Regions from separate parts of the Homo sapiens genome. Here regions 2, 3 and 4 are each linked to region 1. Evidence: promoter capture Hi-C in human tissues and cell types (Jung and others, 2019). All regions are on one chromosome and are shown on one strand. Each heading gives the region's core, a stretch centred on a gene start or on the middle of the fragment in contact. The rest is flanking DNA. Distances are from core to core; before and after follow the strand shown.

Region 1 (3,506 bases), core at 370-2,869:
GTAAAGAGACAACATAGAACTTGTAAGCACTTACTGAATGTTATTTCTGTTTTCCTTCATGATTTCTGAATCTTAGTTGCCCCATTCATAAAATGGGAAAATTAGATATCTGCTTTTTCAAGGGAAGTGGCTGTTTTTCAAAGGAAGTGGCATTTGTTTATTCCACTAAAAAAAAATCTATTTTTATATGAAATATCCCAATTTAATTTTTTTTTTCTTGAGACGGAGTTTCGCTCTTGTTGCCTAGGCTGGAGACCAATGGCATGATCTCGGCTCACTGCAACCACTGCCTCCCCAGTTCAAGCAATTCTCGTGCCTCAGCCTCTCGAGTAGCTGGGATTACAGGCATGCACCACCAAGCTTGGCTAATTTTTGTATTTTTAGTAGAGACGGGGTTTCACCATGTTGGTTAGGCTGGTCTCGAAATCCTGACCTCAAGTGATCCACCGGCCTCCGCCTCCCAAAGTGCTGGGATTACAGGCATGAGCCACCGCGCCCGGCTTTGAAACGATTTTTTTTTTTTTTTTTTTTTTTTTTTTTTGAGACGGAGTCTCGCTCTGTCGCCCAGGCTGGAGCGCAGTGGCGCGATCTCGGCTAACTGCAAGCTCGCCTCCCGGGTTCACGCCATTCTCCTGTCTCAGCCTCCCGAGTAGCTGGCACTACAGGTGCCCGCCACCACGCCCAGCTAATTTTTTGTATTTTGTTTAGTAGAGTCGGGGTTTCACCGTGTTAGCCAGGATGGTCTCTATCTCCTGACCTCGTGATCCGCCCGCCTCGGCCTCCTAAAGTGCTGGGATTACAGGCGTGAGCCGCCGTGCCCGTCCGAAAAGATTTTTTAAAAGTAAAAATACCCTAAGGGCCAAACAAGGTACCCCTGTGGACTGGATTTAGCTTTGGGCTGTTGTTCACCTAGGCTACTGATTGTCAGGGATGCTATGACATCCTTATCGTGTAACTTAGGCAAATCAGTTTACCTCCCTGAACTTCAGTGAGCTCATCTGTAAAATGGATCAGGACCCATCGTTATGCGGATCAAATGAGACCAGGTATGTAAGACGCTGAACAGCGCTGGCGCATGGTAAGCACCCCACGCATGACGCGACAGCGGTAGCTTGGGTGGATGTTGAATTGGTTAGGATGTATTCAAGGATATCCCAGAGGCCAGCGGAATAGGCGAAGCCGAGAAAGATGGAGAAAAGACGGCAGAGGAGATAAAGAGGGAATGGAAGAAGTGAGGAGGCAACAGGGTCCGCCCTCCAGGCGGGGCGCCAGGGAGAGGCCCAGGCCGGGGCGGGAGCGCACGTGGCCTATTTCGGGCGGAGCAGAGGCACTGGGCGCAGCGGAGACCTCCAAGCCGGCCCCAGGAGACGGGCCGCGAGGTTAGGTTGGAACTCGGCGGCAAGGACCTTGAACGCCGGGCTGGGGCGGCTCCAGGTGCTTGGGAGTCGGGGGACTGCGGAGGACGCCAAGTCTGAGCTCGCCGCCCTCTCCGAGCCGTTTGGGCCGGACGCCTGGGTCCTTCGGGCTCCGCCCCAGGGGGTGGGGCTATATGTTCGGACCAATGACCGGCCGTCCCTGCGGTCCCGCCCCCTCCCCGCCCCCGGAGCCGCGGCCTCGCTGAGTGCCCAGCCGCCCGGCGCCCAGGCCTGGGGCACCGCGAGTGCCGAACCTTCGGCTGGTGAGTGCGCACCCCCTCCCCGGGGTTTCCGCCCCGATCCCGCCTCCAGCCCGTGCCCCAGAGCTCCAGGTCGCCGACCCGGGCCCTGGGGAGTGACTCAGCGCAAGGATGGTGGCGACTTGCGGGGGCTGGAGATTCGAACTGTTCAAGGCCTTGAATGCTGGGATGAGTGGGGTGAACGCGAGCCCTCGGAGCTGGTCCCGGGGCTGTGCCAGAGCGTGGGGCCGGGCTGGGGTGGACGGGAGAGGACCAGATTCGGAGACCAGGGCAGGGCGGGAGAAGCCACGGCTGCACTGCCTTGCTGGGCCAGGGCCACGGTGGGCGGGGGGGGGGGTGGGGGGGGGCGGGTCCTGAGCTTCTGATCCAGCTCCCCGCCTCAGGACACCAAGATGCCTGGCGAACAGCAGGCAGAGGAAGAGGAGGAGGAAGAGATGCAGGAGGAGATGGTGCTGCTGGTGAAGGGTGAGGAGGATGAGGGTGAGGAGAAGTATGAGGTGGTGAAACTCAAGATCCCCATGGACAACAAGGAGGTATGTGTCACACACACCCTGGGGCACACTGTCCCCAAACCTGGTCCAGGCCCAGCCTCCCTCAGATAGAAGCCAGGGATCTTGCCCCTACTTTTCCCAGAATCTCGGATCTAAAACCTCAGGATTGGCCCATCCTTCTGCCCTACTGCCTGGGCTTCCATCATACAAAAGTCACGCCTACTGTCCCAGGCTTCCTGCTGGGTGCAGGAGATTAAACTCCGTCCTTGGATCCCCCATGGAGCTTGATGTTAGACTGAAGGGTAACCACACAGTTAGAATCCCGTGTGATGGCTGCAGGTACAGGGGGATGATGAAGCCTAGAAGTGGGAACTTAACTCAGATTTAGAGGTTGGGGAAAGGTCAGGTTAGTTCAACAGCAACAGTAACAATAGCTAACCCTTGCCTAGCATTTTCTATGTGCCAGGCACTGTTCTAAGCACCTCGATTCTATGATGTCGGTAGCATTTATTCCATTTTACAGATGAGGAGACTGAGGCCCAGGGCAGTTTGGTAACTGGCCACAGGTCTCAAAGTAAAAGGATGGCTTATGTGAGACTAGTAGGAGTCTGGGGTCAGAAGTGGGGTGATGGACCCAGTCAGAGGAAATGGCTCTTTTATTATTACTGTTGTTATTGTTTGAGACAGGGTCTCATTCAGTCACCCAAGCTGTAGTGCAGTACAGCTCACTGCAGCCTTGACTTCCCTGGGCTCAGGTGATCCTCCCACCTCAGCCTCCCAAGTAGCTGGGACTACAGGCATGCACCACTACACCTGGCTAATTTTTTTTTGTTTTGTTTTGAGACAGAGTTTCGCTCTGTTGCCCAGGCTGGAGTGCAGTGGCGTGATCTCGGCTCACTGCAGCCTCCACCTCCCGGGTTCAAGTGGTTCTCCTACCTCAGCCTCCCAAGAAGCTGGGATTACAGGCATGCACCACCACGCCCGGCTAATTTTTTGTATTTTCAGTAGAGTTGGGGTTTTGCCATGTTGGCCAGACTGGTCTCAAACTCCTGAGTTCAGGTGATCCTCCCACCTCAGCCTCCCAAAGTGCTGGGATTATAGGTGTGAGCCACCGTATCCAGCCAGAAATGGCCCTTATAGAGGCTCAGACGAGTGAGTAGTGCACTGCAGCAGTGAGGGTGGGTGGTTCGGTCATGCTGTAGTGTGGATGAGTGGGGGTGGTTGGCAGGCCACACAGGGAGTCTGGCTTTTATTCTGAGGGTATTTGAAGGTTTTGAGATCAGAATATGAGTTAAATTTCACCCCCTGGAGACCCTAACTGCCACCAGATACGTTTCCGC
Region 2 (3,506 bases), core at 734-3,233, 510 kb before region 1:
ATTTCTCTGAGTCTGGTTCTCTGAATTTCCATCTCTGTTTCTATGTGTCTGTTTTTCTGTCTGACTGTCACCTAATCATTCTGTCTCTGTCTCTCTGGTTCTGTCTGTGCCCAGGTTTGACTTTCTCTGACAGTCTCGTTCTGTGTTCCCTGAATCTCACAGGAATGCAGGCTCTTTCCTCTGCAGTCTCTCTCTGCCTGCTCTTCTCTAGCCTGGCTCCCCATCTCCCTGAGCCCATATCCCTCCCTCTGCCTCTAGGCCACTCCTGCCACTCTGGGGGCCTCACCTGGCAGGTAGCCCATCTCTGGGCCCCTCCTCAGCAGGGCCCCATGAAGCAGTTCAGCCAGGGCCTCAGAGGCCACCGTGGGGGTCTCACTTCCAGGCTCTGGCAATATCTCCTCCTCCTTCAGGGGCAGACCTAGGAGGTGAAGTTGTGTGAGCTTCTCCACTTCCCCACACCCCTTCCTTCTCCAGAGAGATATTTTCTAGAACTCTTCCTCCCTCCTCCATCAGCTGGGCCTGCAGGGGCTCAGATGGTCCCAGGCTCGACTGAGGGCCAAGATCGGAGGAGGGGCTCCCAGCTGCCCTCATACTCCCACTCCCACACCTCTTCTCTCCCCTCCCCTCTCCCTTCTCCCTGGGCTGTGTGGGCCTTCATTGAACACCTTAGCTCTTATGGACCCTGGACAGCGCCAGCAAGGCAGAGGGGTCGCCGGTGCTGCCTTCCCTTTCACCTCAGTGGTGATCTCCCCCCAACCCTGGGGCTCTGCAGAGGATCTGGCCGCACCTCCCAGCCCTTGCTTCCGCAGTGCCTGGCTTTCTCTCTGGGTTTCTGTCTCTGCAGTGTGGCTGTCTTTTCTCTCTCTCTCTCTCTCTCTCTCCCCCCCACCCTCTCTCTCTCTGGTCCTCTGCAGTCTCTGCCTCCTTCCCTGGAGTCTGGCTGGGGGTCAGAGTGGGGGACTGAAAATCTGGTCTTTGAGCCCTGCCTCTGCTCATCTGTCTTTGTCCATTCATCCAAGAACAGTTGTGTGTACAGCGCCTGGCATCTCTCTCAGCACCTCCATCTCCCACCCAGGTCCCTCCATGCTTCTGCCGCCTCCGCAGACATCCCCCCAACTTTCCCAGCCCTCCTTCTTGGATCTAGCCCCTGAGACACTGCTAAAAGCTTCTCTCATTCATTTCTCTGCCTTCTCAATATTGAGGGTTAAGGGGCTTCGGGTTCAAGCCTGAAAGCTCTGGCTTGCCCCTTCCCCATCAGCTGTGCCTCTCCCCTCCCCCATGTGCTCGGAAGACCCAGGATATTAAGAGAAAGGAGGGTGGAGGACCCCGCTGGACGCCTTCCTGGGGCCCACCCCCACAGTCTCATGTCCTTACCCTGGATCCAGGGACAGCTCAGCAGAATTAGGAACAGCAGCTGGGGAGGCGGCGGGTGCTGGGCCCTGGGAGTCCCCATGGCGACTCACCCCGATCTCTCTCCTCTGTGCCTCTCTAAGTAATCTGGCTGCCACCTTTCCTCCGTCTCCGTTTATCTTTCCCTTTAATTGTTTTTTTTTTTTTTTTTTTTTTCCTCGTAGGAGTCAGCAAAGAAAGACAATTTCTCTGCCCCTTGGGATGGAGGGGCAGAATTGGGCTAGGGGTCGCCTGGAGCCCACCCCCCTTTGCTCAGTCTCCTCTGTCCTCTTCTCGCGGCTCTGTGGTGGAGGGGGCGCGGCTCCGGCTGCAGGGGGTGGGGCCGAGAGGGCCGAAGGGGCCGGGTGGCCTGGGTTACCCTCCTGCTCAGGCGCCTGGGTCCACTGGGCTGTCTGGACCCCAAGCTAGGGGACTGGGGAGGAGAAAGACAGCTTCTGGGGGTTTAGGGTGGGGTCGAGGATCGAGGGGGTCTCCACTGGGCTCTAGCGGGGCTTGTCGGGGAGGGGAAGGGGTGGGTTGGGGAACTGGGAGAGCCGAAGCTCGGGCACTGGAGCTGCGGGAGGGAGAAGCTGAGAAAGGTATCGAGCCCACGTCAGATCCTGGGGACGGGCGGAGGGAGGGGCCTGGGATTTATTTGACGGGGAGGGAGGAGGAGGAAGTGCAGATGGAGGAGGGAGGGATCATACGAGCCAGGGCCGTAATCCTCACTCCCGCGGCCCCTAGGGGAGGCAAAGGAAACTCTCTGGTCCCAGCAGTAATTAGCCCCCTCCGCCTGCCATTCCAGCACATCTGGAATCTGAATCTCCTCTTCCCAGGGTGCCGAGGGGCTGCATAGCTTGGTTCGCGCCTGCTAGGCCCCCAATTATGCCCCCTGTTCACATTCAGACCTCCCAAGGGGCTTCCCTTCCCCTTTTACAGTAGCTCGGGTGGAATGGGCTCTCCCTCCTCCAGGGGAATAGAGAGCTTCCACGATTGTGACAAGTCTCGTGGGTGACGGGCCGGGGTTTGGGGAGGAGAGACAGACCCCTCCTCTTCCATAAACCCTGACCCCGGCCAGCTAACAGGCGGCCTCGGCTCTGATTTTCCCTCCGGAGCGCCCTTTTCAGCACCAGCGGCGCGCGGACAGCTCCCCTCGCCCCGCCGGGGCGGGCCCGGCCCGACGCCGCCCGCGATTGGCTGAGGCCGCTTTCGGTGTTTGCCAGGCTCGCGGGCTCCCGGGCTGCCTAGGGCCAGCGGGAGTCACAGGCCGACCGACCGACGGACCAGCCGCCCGACGGACTGGCCTCAGCATCCTTGCCCGCAGTCCCGGGCGCCTGCCCAGCCGTCAGTCCGCGCTCGCCCCGCCCCTCAGGCCCCGCCCCTCAGGCCCCGCCCGATACGACCCGCCCCTTCTTTCGCATTGCGGGACGGCTGGAGGCTGGCACCGTGGCCCCTGCGCCCCACGTGGCGCCCTTTCCGGGCGGGGGGGGTGGGGAGGCACCTCCAGCGACAACTCTCCCCCCTCCCCCGGCACCCGGCTGATTTGCTGTGCCACTGGGAGGGTTCGGGGGTGGCTGAGCTGAGAGGGCTCCGGGAAGGAGTGACGTCAGGGTGAGTGGGAGCCCAGGAAGGAGCGAGTAGGAGAGAGGGAGCGAGAGCCAGGCAGGACCGCAGGGTCGGGGCTAGTGAGGAGCGAGGGCAAGGAGAGAGCAGTGAGGCCGGAGAGAAAGAAGCTGCCGCGGAGGAAGACAGGCTGCGGGTTCCCGGGACTGCAGGTCCAGGCAGGGTAGGAACCGCTGCCCAGGGGAGCTAGGAGGAAGCGGGGAGAGAGAGCGAGCGAAAAGCGGGGGTGGGGAGGAAAGGGGGAGATTGAGGTGGGAGAGAGAAGCAGAGCGAGAGAGAGGAGGCTGCTGGAAGGAGAAAGAAGAGGGTGAGGAGGCGACAGAGGGAGAGGAGGAAGAAGAGGTAGAAGGAGAGAGAAAGGGGAGAGAAAGGAGAGAGGAGGGTTGGAGGTGCATGAAGGAGGGGAGAGGGAGCTTCAGCGTGGAGAGAGGACCGCGGAAGGAGAGAGAGACAGCCCAGAGTGGAATGTGGAAGGGAAACAGTCCAGCGGGGAG
Region 3 (3,506 bases), core at 632-3,131, 370 kb after region 1:
GGTCCCAGTGGCAGCGGTACCCTGGGCTGCTGCCCAGGGACTGGCAGACCAAAACTACTCCTGGGCCCACCCCGACCTTGGCTGTCTTCTTGGGAGTGAACAGATGTTGGCATCAGTGGTGGACATGCCCGTTTCAGCCAGACCTTGGGCACTGCCTGTGATTGGCCAGTGGGTTGCCTGATGTAGACCGCTGTCTTCTCAAAACTTCCCTTGCATCCGACGGTGCTACGCTGTCCTGTCCTGGTTTTTCTCATACTGTCTTCTGCTGGTCCTCTTCCTCCACCCCTAAACTAGACCTTCTACTTTGCCACTTTGTGTGTGTTTATTCATGGTTATGGCTATAGCTAAGCTGATAAGGACCTAACTGCTCCAGCCACTCCTCTTTCCTGAGCTCCAGACCTGGAGAATCACCACTGTTCTTGTGGAGAGAAGAGAGATCATGTCACTCTCAAATATCCCCAAGTGGTACCTTCCCCGAGCTCCTCCAGGGGCTCCACACTGTGGGCTCTGCTCTCTGCCTCTGTCTTCCCATAGTCCCCTCTCTGCTCTAAGCCCATACCCAACTGTTATGCACCCCTGTCCTCCATCCCACCCCCAGCCGATACACCTACTCTTGGGTCTTCTTGCAGCCCTCATCCTTCAGGTCACTTTCCCCGGAAAGCTTCCTGACCCTCCACTGTGGCAGGCACCATCTCTGGGTCCACAGCCCTTCTGCGAAATCTCTGAGGCAGTCACTGCCCTGTGTCTGCTCTTCTGCTGTAGTCACTTTCCTGCAGATTTCTCCAGCACTGGGACTCCTGATAGACCTCAGTGTCCCCAGGGCTTGGCACACAGAGAATGTAGAGTAGCCTTCATTACTTGCTTCTCCTCTCCTCCCACCCCCCTTTCCAGGTGGGGAAGGGAAGGAGACACTGAACCTGCCCTGGGTTGTGGTCAGAGGGGTACAGGAAAGGTGGGGAGACACTTTCTGGCTGGGGCAGGATTCCCCCAATCCCCCATGGCCAGGCCCAGGGCCCAGGAGACTGAGCACTGAGGCAGGCCTGAGATTGGGATGGAGTGGGCACAAAACATGCTTGAGTTCCTGGCCATTCTGGTTTCCTTCACGGACTTGCTGTGGATCTTGGGCAATTGGCTGCCCTTCTCTGAGCCTCGCCTCTCCACACAGTGAGGGCACAAGGGCTGACATCCTGGCAGTGATGACAAGCCAGGTCTCCACCCACCTCTCCCAGGGTCCCCAAGTGAACCAGGAGTGGTGGATGCCAGCTTCTGAAACTAGATCCTCAGAACTTCCCTGTGGCAGGTTGCGGGTATGGTGGTCAGAGAGGCCTCCCTGGGGCTGCACAGCTGGGCCTGAGCTGGCCAGCGCCAGAGCCACCAGGCGGCCACTCTGCAGTCCTGCTGGTGGGAAGGCCAGGCACCGATGAGAACAGCTTAGCTTGGCTGCCATCTCATCAGATTTATCCCTTTCCGCACCAAGGGACTGCAGCTTAAAACTTCATAAACTCTTCAGCTTCCCACAAGCCAGCAATGGATGGGGATTTTAGGGCCCCTGGGTGAAGGGTGGGCCTGGGGCTGGGCTGAGCTTTTGCAGTCACTCCTGGGCTCCGGCTTAAGGTGAGGCCACACTCTTTCAGCTCACTTTAGGCTGAAAGAAAAAACAAGAAACACCCAGGAAATCTTATTCCCTTTATTCTCTTCAACTAAGCAACATGACCACCAGTGACACAACACTGTTTTGGACACACAACACTCAAAAATGGGGCCTCTCTTCACTCCATGGGGACAAGTCCGGTGACTGGGGCTTCCCTAGTGAGGGCAAAGGAGTCTGGGAGCTGCTGACCTCAGGGCAGGTCATGGAACCCCACCTCTTGGCTGTGATGGCTTCAAGTTTCCCCACCATTCAGGATTCATGCCCAGTTCCAAGTTCCCATCTGACCTCCATGTCCATAGCAGTTTCAAGTTTCACTCTAAGCTCTCCCCTCTGCTTTCCCCACTGACTCCCTGACCCTATCTGTTGGGCTCCTCCCTCCACCAGGGCGTTTCTGAGGGGCCTGGGGCCTGCATGTGATTGGACAAGAGGGTTTGGCTGCACAGTGCCTTCCAGACTCAGTTGTGGTGAGCAAATGCTTTGACCCCTGGGCCTTCATCTGAGCCGATCTGAGCAACTCTAGCCACTGCCACCTCCCTGCTTCAATCCTCCCAAGACGTAGCTCACTCTGGGAGGGAAGCTCCTGGTTAAAGGAGCTTGGGGAGGTGGGCAAGAGAGAACACGCCACACCCCAGAGGTATCGAACCCTGCCCCTTTCCTACCGCAAGACGCCTGACCCTACGAACTGTGCGCTCACATCATCCATCCCGTACAAGAGCCAAGCCCCTTAGCCCTCACCCATCCCTACAACATGTGAGCATCCTACTAAATATGCTACACCCTAGTCCGAAACAGGCCTGCGCCGGCCTTCAGTCACACTGCCTGCCTCCCCCCAGACTGGCCTCTGAGCCCCAAAAGCTGCTCCCCAGGCCTCTTCTGGGAACAGATTCCTTAGGCCTGTTTTTGAGAGCATCTGCTTCTGGCTTTGCGAGAGGTTTGTCTTTACAACTTCAGTTTCTGCTACCATCTTGGGGAGGGGGACATCTCCTTAGACTTGGCAGACTTCTCATTCTTACAGGGCACCCCCTTCGTTGGCGTTCTGTTAGGAAGAGACCCACAGGCAGCACCCCCCTCAGTAGTGCTTCCCTTCCTGGCACTTGGATAGGCTGGGGCGTTATGCAGATGGCAACATGGTTCTCCGCACAATCCTGAGGCCTGCCTTCTCCCTCTCCCCAGCAGGCCTGGCGTTTTCCTCCCACAATGTTTGAGATTTTGATCCTTTTAAATGTGAGGGTCATCCTGCTGGGGCCAGGATAGACAAATGGCGAAGGATTTGCATAAAGGTTGTGTGAAACTTTAGGTCATGGAATTAGAGGTCTCTTCCACAGCTTTGCAAAAATCTGGGTCACCCCTCTCTTGAGACGTGACTCCTGACGGGCCCCACAGCTGGCATCTCAGTCCTCTTACTCCAGGACAGCGCATTACTGGGGTTGGCAAGCACTTCCTTTCTGACCCAGCGCTGAGCAGAGTCCTCTCCTTTTGAAGGGGTCTCCAGGATTAGGGAGTGGGAGTCTTGTTACAGATGTTTCATTCAAGAGTTTTCTGTCTTCCACCATCTCATAGGGCAACAGTCTCTCCCCAGCCACATATGCCCAGGCCTGTGAGCAGGCTTGGCTGTTTATGAATGTGTAACTGTGTGGTGTGGGAGGTGAGATGGGCCTGGCAAGGGAGGCTTTCTCATCCTTCTGTTTCCTTCTGAAGGTTTCTGGCTAAGGAGGAGAGGGGAGCCAAGTGAGTGGAATCCATCCCATCCATCTCAAGGCTGAGATTGGGCTGGATCTCACAACCCTGGAGGGCTCCAGGTACCAGGGTGAAGAGGGTGATACGGCCTCTGCGGACTCTTCAGGGACCTGTGGCT
Region 4 (3,506 bases), core at 304-2,803, 300 kb after region 1:
AGCCATTAACCTCCAGCAAAGCAGGCTCTTCCCCTTGCCTCGGCTCTTCCTCAGCTGCCTCCAGTCCTCCACCCCCTGCTTCTCGCCTGGATGATGAAGGTGTGTGTTCTCTTTGGTCCTGTTACTCTTCCTCATGTACCCTTTCCAGAGCTGAAAAACCCACCCTGTGGCTTGCAGGGCCCGTGGACTTTGTGACCTTGTTCTCCTGCTATAGATGGGGACTTTCAACCCCAAGAGGATGAGGAAGAGGATGATGAGGAAACGATTGAAGTTGAAGAACAACAGGAAGGCAATGATGCAGAGGCCCAGAGGCGTGAGATTGAGCTGCTTCGCCGTGAGGGAGAATTGCCACTGGAAGAGCTGCTCCGTTCCCTTCCCCCTCAGCTGTTGGAAGGGCCTTCCAGCCCCTCTCAAACCCCCTCATCTCATGATAGTGACACCCGAGATGGGCCTGAAGAAGGTGCTGAAGAAGAGCCCCCTCAGGTGTTGGAGGTATAGGCAGAAGGAGCAGAGGGAGGGTTCAGAGGGGGAACAGAGGGAGAGGTTCAGGGTCTGAGTTCCGGGCTGTGAGGTTGGTTATGAGTTTTAGGAGTTCTGCTAGTAATGGACATTTGGGCTCTTTGGGGATGACTGGGGAAGAATCTGTTTGGGGCAAGTTGCATTTTGTGATTGGCAGGTTTTGGCGCTATAGTGGAAGAGCGTATTGCACTTTCCTCTTTAAATTGCTGTGTGGTCTTGAAAAAGTACTTCCTCTGACCGTTACTTGCCACTTCTCTGAACATGCCCTAATGTTCCCTTATTGGCTTACAGGTTGGAAGCTGGCATGGTACCCTTAAGTCTTTTCTGTTTCTCCATATGTCTCAAGTGCATGGGGAAGTGTTGGGTGCCTTTATTTGTTACCTGGCACTTTCACAGTTCCTTCCCCAGGCAGTGGGGCCAGGATTTGGTAGCTGGTGCTGAGAGAAAACCCTTGATTGTATTCTTGCCCTGGGATTATACCAGTGGCAACTGTCACTCAATGGGACAGTGATTCTCCTGTGACACCTTTTTCAAGTTTGTGCCATTCTTCTGCTACTGTAACCTTAGACCCTTCCCTTTTTTATCTTTTGCCATACAGATAAAGCCCCCACCCTCTGCTGTCACACAGCGCAACAAACAGCCTTGGCATCCAGATGAAGATGATGAAGAGTTTACTGCCAACGAAGAGGAAGGTCAGGGCTGTTCGGTTTGTCCTATTGCCCCTTACCCCTTGAATGAATTGTCTGGACCTAACCTTTCAGGCTTTCTCATCTGTTTCATTTGGACTGTGTCCTGTGCCTCTAGCCTCTATCCCTATTAATCTTGCTTCTGTCTCTTTCCTAGCGGAGGATGAAGAGGATACTATAGCAGCTGAGGAACAGTTGGAAGGGGAGGTGGATCATGCCATGGAGCTGAGCGAGTTGGCTCGAGAAGGTGACATTTACCAGACATTTTACTAAGCATCCACTTGGTGTCTGCGGTGTGCAGTACCAAGGATAAAGAGATGAATAAGGCACTTTGTATCCACCCTGGAGGAATTCCATGTCTAATGACTAAGACAGACTTGTAAACCAGTAATGATAAGTAGAAAGTGATGAGTGCTTATGATAGAAGTTTAAATGGTGATGTGGGAGTGAAATGGAGGGAAGAGCTAATGTAGGAAGATACTGACAGCATTTGACCTGGACCTTGAGAGGCTCACCAGGTTGATAATGTTCTTCCCAATTCCCATGGTACTTCCCCCAGGTTGTGGGGCTTGGCTTTGCTAGCTGATGCTGAAAGTAAGCTCTTTTGCCTCCCCTCAGACCTGGGCCTAGCAGTATCTACAGAGACCTAGGTAAAATTAACTGGTACTACTCAGACCTCCCCTTCTCCCTCCCCTCAGAGCAACCAAAAGCTTTTTGTTTCTCTTCCAGGTGAGCTTTCCATGGAGGAGCTATTGCAGCAGTATGCAGGAGCCTATGCCCCAGGCTCTGGGAGCAGTGAAGATGAGGATGAAGATGAGGTTGATGCTAATAGCTCTGACTGTGAACCAGAGGGGCCCGTGGAAGCGGAAGAGCCTCCTCAGGAGGATAGTAGCAGTCAGTCAGGTGAATATGTGGTCATGAAGCAGGAGCTGGGGAGGGTGGCCATTGGAAGAGCAGGTATGATGAGCAGTAAGCCTTGGTCTTACCCTTTAGACTCTGTGGAGGACCGGAGTGAGGATGAGGAAGATGAACATTCAGAGGAGGAAGAAACAAGTGGAAGTTCAGCATCAGAGGAATCTGAGTCTGAAGAGTCTGAGGATGCCCAATCACAGAGCCAAGCAGATGAAGAGGAGGAAGATGATGATTTTGGGGTGGAGTACTTGCTTGCCAGGGATGAAGAGCAGAGTGAGGCAGATGCAGGCAGTGGGCCTCCTACTCCAGGGCCCACTACTCTAGGTCCAAAGAAAGAAATTACTGACATTGCTGCAGCAGCTGAAAGTCTCCAGCCCAAGGGTTACACGCTGGCCACGACCCAGGTATCCCCAGGTTCTGGCCTCTCCTTTCTCATGTCTTGACTTTCTCATGTCCCCACAACAAATGCCTCATTTCCATTGTGTTACCTATATTTCCTCTCTGACAGGTAAAGACGCCCATTCCCCTGCTTCTGCGGGGCCAGCTCCGGGAGTACCAGCACATTGGGCTAGACTGGCTGGTTACCATGTATGAGAAGAAGCTTAATGGCATTCTTGCTGATGAGATGGGGCTTGGGAAGACCATCCAGACCATCTCTCTGCTTGCCCACTTGGCTTGTGAGAAAGGTAAGTAGGCAAGGCCCCTTCTTTTGTTCCCCCTAGTCTAGCTCCCTGGGAGCTTGTTCAGTGATGACTCCAGCTTCATTGACTTTTGCTTTATTGACTCCGGTCATTAACTGTATAGAGAGGACAGTGTAGGTGCTAGGATTCCTAGGAAGGGCCAAAGGGTGGCCAGGGTTATAACTGAGAAATCAGAACCACAGAATTTACATTTCCTTACCATCTCTGATTTTTTTGCCTAACAGGTAACTGGGGTCCCCATTTAATCATTGTTCCCACCAGCGTGATGTTGAACTGGGAGATGGAGTTGAAACGGTGGTGCCCCAGCTTTAAAATCCTCACTTACTATGGAGCCCAGAAAGAGAGGAAGCTCAAGCGGCAGGTTCGATGTTTCATGTGGTCACTTTCCTCCCATTGATGCCTCCTTTATTTTTAAGCCCTTTCCTCAGGTGAATTCCTTTCTCTCCTCTTTCTTTTTTAAAAAAAATTTTTTAATTTTTTGTAAAAATAAAGATGGGGTCTCACTATGTTACCCAAGCTGACCTTGAACACCTGGGCTCAAGAGATCCTCCCACCTCAACCTCCCAAAGTACTGAGACTATAGCTGTGAGCCACCGCACCCAGGCCCCTCCTCTTTCTGTCGCTCCATTCTTTTGCTGGGACTTTCTCTTTTCTTCCAACCTGATTACTGTCCTTTGAGGAGTTTAGC

Evidence for each region. The method cuts DNA at HindIII sites, captures the fragments that hold promoters and counts their contacts. A contact is called where the count stands out against the background at its distance.
Region 2: a contact is called between the fragment with the promoter of SEZ6L2 here and the fragment with the promoter of ZNF771 in region 1, in 2 of the 25 tissues and cell types used here (IMR-90 fibroblasts and neural progenitor cells).
Region 3: a fragment that was not itself captured here is called in contact with the fragment with the promoter of ZNF771 in region 1 in 1 of the 25 tissues and cell types used here (adrenal gland).
Region 4: a fragment that was not itself captured here is called in contact with the fragment with the promoter of ZNF771 in region 1 in 1 of the 25 tissues and cell types used here (spleen).

Annotation. Positions count from the first base shown.
Region 1 is chr16:30,405,987-30,409,492 of GRCh38, forward strand. It overlaps ZNF771 (zinc finger protein 771), which reads left to right and starts at 1,620. Exons shown (of 3, transcript NM_001142305.2): 1 at 1,620-1,678; 2 at 2,059-2,208. The coding sequence starts at 2,068. RefSeq lists silencers at 1,344-1,523, 1,546-1,755. The HindIII fragment of the contact is 10,608 bases long and covers 154-3,506 here.
Region 2 is chr16:29,897,567-29,901,072 of GRCh38, forward strand. SEZ6L2 (seizure related 6 homolog like 2) reads right to left here and starts at 1,984. Exons shown (of 18, transcript NM_001243332.2): 1 at 1,375-1,984; 2 at 287-418. The coding sequence starts at 1,453. It overlaps ASPHD1 (aspartate beta-hydroxylase domain containing 1), which reads left to right and starts at 2,922. Exons shown (of 3, transcript NM_181718.4): 1 at 2,922-3,506. The coding sequence starts at 3,406. RefSeq lists an enhancer at 1,882-2,176 and a silencer at 2,540-2,969. The HindIII fragment of the contact is 10,220 bases long and covers 1-3,506 here.
Region 3 is chr16:30,776,784-30,780,289 of GRCh38, forward strand. ZNF629 (zinc finger protein 629) reads right to left here. Exons shown (of 3, transcript NM_001080417.3): 3 at 1,673-3,506. Among named protein-coding and RNA genes, the nearest start is that of ZNF629, 8.7 kb to the right of the region's middle. The HindIII fragment of the contact is 5,594 bases long and covers 1-3,506 here.
Region 4 is chr16:30,709,637-30,713,142 of GRCh38, forward strand. SRCAP (Snf2 related CREBBP activator protein) reads left to right here. Exons shown (of 34, transcript NM_006662.3): 7 at 1-99; 8 at 215-492; 9 at 1,118-1,211; 10 at 1,363-1,452; 11 at 1,935-2,108; 12 at 2,199-2,521; 13 at 2,626-2,803; 14 at 3,043-3,179. SNORA30 (small nucleolar RNA, H/ACA box 30) reads left to right here and starts at 901; the gene lies at 901-1,029. The HindIII fragment of the contact is 4,122 bases long and covers 1-3,506 here.